Linked DNA regions of Homo sapiens: region 2 is linked to region 1. Evidence: promoter capture Hi-C in human tissues and cell types (Jung and others, 2019). All regions are on one chromosome and are shown on one strand. The core of a region is centred on a gene start or on the middle of the fragment in contact, and the rest is flanking DNA. Distances in the headings are between cores, read along the strand shown.

Evidence for each region. Contacts are between HindIII fragments. The study calls those that stand out against the background at their distance.
Region 2: the fragment with the promoter of ZNF683 here is called in contact with the fragment with the promoter of AUNIP in region 1 in 1 of the 25 tissues and cell types used here (adrenal gland).

The regions. Positions count from the first base shown.
Region 1 is chr1:25,858,166-25,861,329 of GRCh38, reverse strand. AUNIP (aurora kinase A and ninein interacting protein) reads left to right here and starts at 1,873. Exons shown (of 3, transcript NM_024037.3): 1 at 1,873-2,050. The coding sequence starts at 1,973. RefSeq lists silencers at 1,056-1,115, 1,716-1,975 and enhancers at 967-1,592, 1,466-1,695, 1,593-2,218. The HindIII fragment of the contact is 14,334 bases long and covers 1-3,164 here.
Region 2 is chr1:26,371,334-26,374,319 of GRCh38, reverse strand. It overlaps ZNF683 (zinc finger protein 683), which reads left to right and starts at 1,570. Exons shown (of 6, transcript NM_001114759.3): 1 at 1,570-1,651. The HindIII fragment of the contact is 13,714 bases long and covers 1-2,986 here.

The DNA of each region.
Region 1 (3,164 bases), core at 624-3,123:
ACCATATCTATATATACAAAATTTGTTTGGCAAGGGAGTGGGCGGCAGTTTTATTACTAAAGTTTTATAAGTAGTTAAAATAATGTGTTTAAAATATGATAATCCCACTTTATGATCTGACAAAGACTTTTTTTGTTTGGTTTTTCCTTCAATTAAGGAGGGTTTTTTTGTTTTGTTTTTAGTGGAGGGGGCAGGGGCGTGCACACTCCACCACACATATTGAGCCTCGTCGCATGCGCACCGAAGAAGTATGTTAACTTTTATAATATTGCTTTTTCCATAGTACACAGCAATATATATACAATGAAGGAAAATTGGGAAGATAAGAAAACCCAAATTAATTAGAAATATCACTTCACTGCTGAAATATCATGGGGGACCTTATGAAATACACACACACACACACACACACACACACACACACACACACATAAAATATGTGTATATAAATAAATATTTTGATATAGGCCAGGCATGGTGACTCACGCTTGTAATCCCAGCACTTTGGGAGGCTGAGGCAGGCATATCACCTGAGGGCAGGAAGTTGAGACCAGTCTGGCCAACATGGCGAAAACCCATCTCTACTAAAAATACAAAAATTAGCCAGGCGTGGTGGCACACACCTGTAGTCCCAGCTACTTGGGAGGCTGAGGTGGCAGGATCGCTTGAGCCCAAGAGGTTGAGGCTGCAGTGAGCTGAGACTGTGCCACTGTACCCGAGCCTGGGTGACAAAGCGAGATGGCTCTGTCCACCATGAAGACAGGCTCTGGCTGCAGAGATGGTTGAGGTTCCTGGCTGACCTGCTGCAGACTGGGCAAGAGGTGGCTGAGCTTCTATCCTCCCTCCACCAAAAAAAAAAAATTACAAAATTTTTGGCCGGGCGCGGTGGCTCATGCCTGTAATCCCAGCACTTTGGGAGGCTGAGGCAGGCGTATCACGAGGTCAGGAGTTCGAGACCAGCCTGGCCAATGGTGAAACCCCGTCTCTACTAAAAATACAAAAATTAGCTGGGTGTGGTGGCGTGCGCCTGTACTTCCAGCTACTAGGGAGGCTGAGACAGAAGAACCGCTTGAACCCAGGAGGCGGGGCTGCAGTGAGCCGAGATAGCGCCACTGCACTCCAGCCTGGGCGACAGTGAGACTCCGTCTCAAAAAAAAATTTTTTTTACATATACAATATGTAAACATTACGTATAATGTACATATATTCCATCTATGGAGATTGTGGTTAGGGACGGAAGGATGGGTGGGGGTGCCAACATTTTTGCATTTCCAAGGGGTTTTCTGAATTCACAAAGTACTTTCACAACCTCATTTGATCCTCTTTAAAATCCAAGGCACAGTAAACGGTGAAAGCAGGACTGAAATCTAGTTCCTGACCCCAAATTTTAACCTCTTCAAAATCCTCTCCCATGTGGCTTCGTAGTTACGCTTACATTAAAAAAAAAAAATTACCAAAGTTGTTCGCACACTCGAGTGTCTGGTAACCACTTAGGTCGAGGACCCCTGGTCTGGAGTCGACGGGCCTGATCTCGGCTCAGCCACTTCCTTCTGGGGGTGATCGCGAAGATTCAGCGATGACACGAACAAATTCCTAAGCCCGGGAAATACTGTAAGAAATTTTCAATACAGCAAAAAGAAAATGTACATTTCTGAGGCTGTCGAGAACCGTTCACACAGCAGCTTCCGAATCCGCTCTTGAAAGAGCGGATCAGAAAGAACACGCACTCCTCCGCGCAGGGAAATATGCCGCACGCACTCAAGGGACCGGCCGCGAAAGTTAGTGCGTGGGCGGGGCACAGCGAAGGGGGCCAGGGCCTTGCCGGGGCGGGGCTGGCGCCCGGGGCGGTCGCGACGTAGCCCCGCCCCCAGCGTTGGCGCGAGATCCGAACGTCGGCGGCCGCGGTTCTGGCGTTCCCTGAGGCGCCGGGAGCCTGCGCCGGCGTCCTGCCGGCTTCGTCTCCTCAGCGGCCATGAGGCGGACAGGCCCCGAGGAGGAGGCCTGCGGCGTGTGGCTGGACGCGGCGGCGCTGAAGAGGCGGAAAGTGCAGGTGGGACGCTGGGGGATGAGAGGGCGTTGGGAACCAGGTAGGGCCTGGAGGCGTAAGACGGGAGGAGTTTGGGGGACACCTGGAGATGATGAAAGCGAAGTCGGGGACAGAGAAGGGAACAGCGTTGGGGATTCACAGGCGAGAGGGATTGTGGTCTGAAGAAGGTTGAAAAACGGGGCTTGGGGAGGATGGGAGGGACGGAAGGAAAGAGCGTGCTGTTGGGGGGTCTGGAGGAGCGGTGCGCAGGGAGGGGCGGCGAAGGTTCAGGTGTGGGAGAGGCGGAGGGAAAGTTCGCTCGGAGCAGTTGAACTGACCAGGCTCCCTAGGAGGCCACAGTCCCTGCGAGACGTCCTAGTAGAGGCTGGAGCATTGGGAGATGGATGCGAATGCAAATTGGGGAAATTCTCACCCCGGGGTCTGTTTCCACCCAATTTGCCAAGTTGCAGGCCAACTACCTGCCCAGAACCGGTAACTTTGAGGGGAAAAGTAGAAGCTATGGGAAGGGGAGCTGGCCTCCTATGTACTGAGCAGTCACTGGGTGCCGGATACTGCATTAGATACTGAATATGCGTTATATGTGTCGTCATTCTTGCTGGGAATGAGGAAACTGAGGTTCAGTAACTAACCTAGGCCCGCCTAACTAGAAGGAGCTGGAAATCACATTCAGGTCTGTCACCTAGGCAAGATGCTCTTCAGTCACTGTAAAGAAACAAAAGTGCGACATAATAATCATTCATGTTTATTGAGCATTTTATGCTGGTGCTAAGTGTTTTAGGTATGTTACCTTGTTTGGTACAATTCTATATGGTAGATAGTGTAATGATACCCATTTTACATACGGAAAACAGGCTCAAAACAGACACTAGGGGCAAGATTCTTGCTCTCAGGTTGCTCACAGTCTTATAGGGAAGAAAAGAGGTGTATAAATAATAACAACAATACCTAACCTTTATTGAGTGCTTTCTATGTGTCAGGCATTTTGCCGAGACTTTATACACTTTATCAATGGCAGGTACTCACCAAAATTCAGTAAAGTAGATTTTGTCATTATCCTGGTTTTATAGATAAGAAATTTGATCATTTTATTATTATTATTTATTATTATTATTTTTTG
Region 2 (2,986 bases), core at 321-2,820, 510 kb before region 1:
GTGATGCCAGGAGGGAGCACAGCTGGCAGATGGAAGCCAAAGGTGTGTGGGGAAGTGCCTTGGAGGGGAGGAAACTTCACTCGGTGCCCCTCACTTCCCTGTGATTCCCAGCAAGACAGCAGGGGAGGCGGGCTTGTGGCCTGGGGGTCTGAGAGGGCTCTTCCTTTTAGGGAGTAGAGTTTTGGTGAACTAAGCCCCTCCATTACGCTGAAGGATACTGAGGGGGCCACTGAGGAGTTGGGGGAAGGACTGGGAACAGCATGTGGGAAGAGAGAGCAAGAAAGAAAGAAATGAGGGGGTGGCTGTCGTAGTGGGGGAAGCTGACATGGCCAAGAGATGGCAGAGTCTGAGGTTTACCACTAAAGAGCTCTTGGCTACTTGTTGTGTGACTCTGGATGAGCTGCTAATAATAAAATCCACCACACAGGCTTATTGTGAAGACTAAATGAGATAAAGTTTATGAAGCCCCTAGCACAGTGCCAGACACAGCAAGAAAGCTGTTTGTAAAGGTGGCTATTTACTCTGTTCCTTGGACAATTCCAGCTGGAACCCTGTTACTTTATCTTCTATTCTGGGCATGTATAATGCAGAATTATCAGTTGTAAGCTACAAAAACCATTTCAGGAGGAGTTAAGCAGAAGGAATTTGTTTAAAAGATGTTAGAAAAGCTCGCAGGAGGTCTGAGAAGGCTGGAGAGCAAGGCTTGGAGAATAGGATGGATCAAGGGAGGCTGGAAGTAGACAGGACCATGGCCAAATATCACACCCCAGGACCAGCCCTGCACAGATTCTGCAGCCTCCCCTGAACCCCCTTCTTTCCTTCACTGCCCTGGAAGCCGGATGTGGTACCACAGCCTTTGTTGTAGAGAGGAGTTTCCACAGACCTGCCACCTCAGGACCAGTGGCTTTTTTTATTGTATTTTATTTTATTTTGAGATGGAGCCTCACTCTGTTGCCCAGCCTGGAGTGTAGCAGAGCCATCTCAGCTCACTGCAACCTCCGCCTCCCGGGTTCAAGCAATTCTCCTGCCTCAGTCTCCCAAGTAGCTGGAAATACAGGCACGTGCCACCACACTTGGCTAATTTTTGTATTTTTGTAGAGATGGGGTCCCACCATGTTGGCCAGGCTGGTCTTGAACTCCTGACCTCAAGTGATCTGCCCGCCTCGGCCTCCCAAAGTCCTGGGATTACAGGCGTGAGCCACTGCGCTCAGCCAGTGGCACTAGCTTCTGATCTGCTAGTCTACTGGGCTGCAGTGGAGATTAATGGCTGCTTGGGGCTTTTGTACCCTGGGCCAGACTCACGCACACCAGAATTTGTGTGAGGCCACAGGGGTTATGCCTCTTCTCATGCTCACAAGACTCGGCTTGGCAAGGAAATGTCCCAGGAGGTGGGCTAAGACAGACTCCCTCAGGTTCCCACATGGAGCAGCCTCTGCCTGCCAAGCCCTTCCTTGCTCTCGTCTCCCAGATCATCTGTCTTGTCAGCCTCCATGCCCTGTGATGTCACAGGCCTAAATGTGATGTCACTTTGTCCCACATGCCCTGGGGAGGTAGCACAAAGGGAGGACCATGGTCTTCTAACTGAGGAACCTGAGCAGATGCCTTGACCCAGACCAGAGACCCAAGCCAAGGAAAGCCCATGATCACCAGAGTAGGTTGGGAAGTGCGGATAGAGGGGAAGTAGTTTTTATTTTTTTCTAACAGAGAAGTTGTGCAAGGTGTTCTGAGAGTTGGGAGCAGAGTGTGATGCCAGGAGAGGGCAGAGCTGGCAGATGGAAGCCAAAGGTGTGCGGGTCACCCCTTCTGGGTGGGGACATCTGATCGACCTAGTCCATGTATGCCTGCATGAAGTGCTGGTGAGGGAGGTTGGAATTAAGTATTTGGCCATTTCGGCTTTTATAATGGGAGGTACCTTTTGCCTCCCTCAAGACTCATGTAGGGGAAAAGTTTCAGAGGCTGGGCGTCCAAAAAAACCTGACAGATGTCTACATGGAAAACCAAAATGAGTAGACAGAGGACCCTGTCCTTGAGATGCTCACAAACATGTTGGGATCAGTTATGTGGAGGATGAGTCACAGCCCTAGGGGCTGAGCTGGCAGAGAAACCCCAGGAACATGCCCCAGCCCATGGTGCACAGCCTGAGATGTCCCTGTATATTCTGGGACACCAGGGTGGCGTGGCTGGGGTGCAGATTGATGGCTGGTTGGGGCTTTTGCACCCTGGGCCAGACTCACGCACACCAGAATTTGTGTAAGGCCGCAGGGGTGATGCCTCTTCTCATGCTCACAAGAATAATGACATTGCTCAGGCTAAAAAGCCACTTTCTGGCCTATGAGGTCTCCCTTTTTGTATCTAGACATGTCTTTTCCTTATTTATTAACTTTTTTTAAGACAGGGTCTCGCTCTGTCACCCAGGCTGGAGTGCAGTGGCATGATCTCAGCTCACTGCAGTCTCGACCTCCCTGGCTCAAGTGATCCTCCCACCTCAGCCTCCTGAGTAGCTGGAACAACAGGCATGCGCTACCATGCCTGGCTAATTTTTGTATTTTTTGTAGAGATGGTGTTTCACCATGTTGCTCATGCTGGTCTTGAACTCCTGGGCTCAAGCAGTTGGCCCACCTCAGCCTCCCAAAGTGCTGGGATTACAGATGTGAGCCACCACACCTGGCCTAGTCATGCCTTACACCCATTTTGCTATGTCTATTTTTTTTTTTTTTAAAGAGACAGGGTCTTTCTCTGTCACCCAGGCTAGAGTGCAGTGGCAATATCCTAGTTCACTGCAGCCTTATATTCCTGGGCTCAAGTGATCCTCCTGCCTCAGCCTCCTGAGTAGCTGGGACCAGAGGTGCAAGTCACCATGCCCAGCTAAGTTTTGTATTTTTTGTAGAGATGAGGTCTTGCTTTGTTGCCCAGGCTGATCTCAAACTCCTGGGCTCAAGAGATGGGTCTGCCTTGGTCTCCTGAAGTGCTGGGATTACAGATGTGA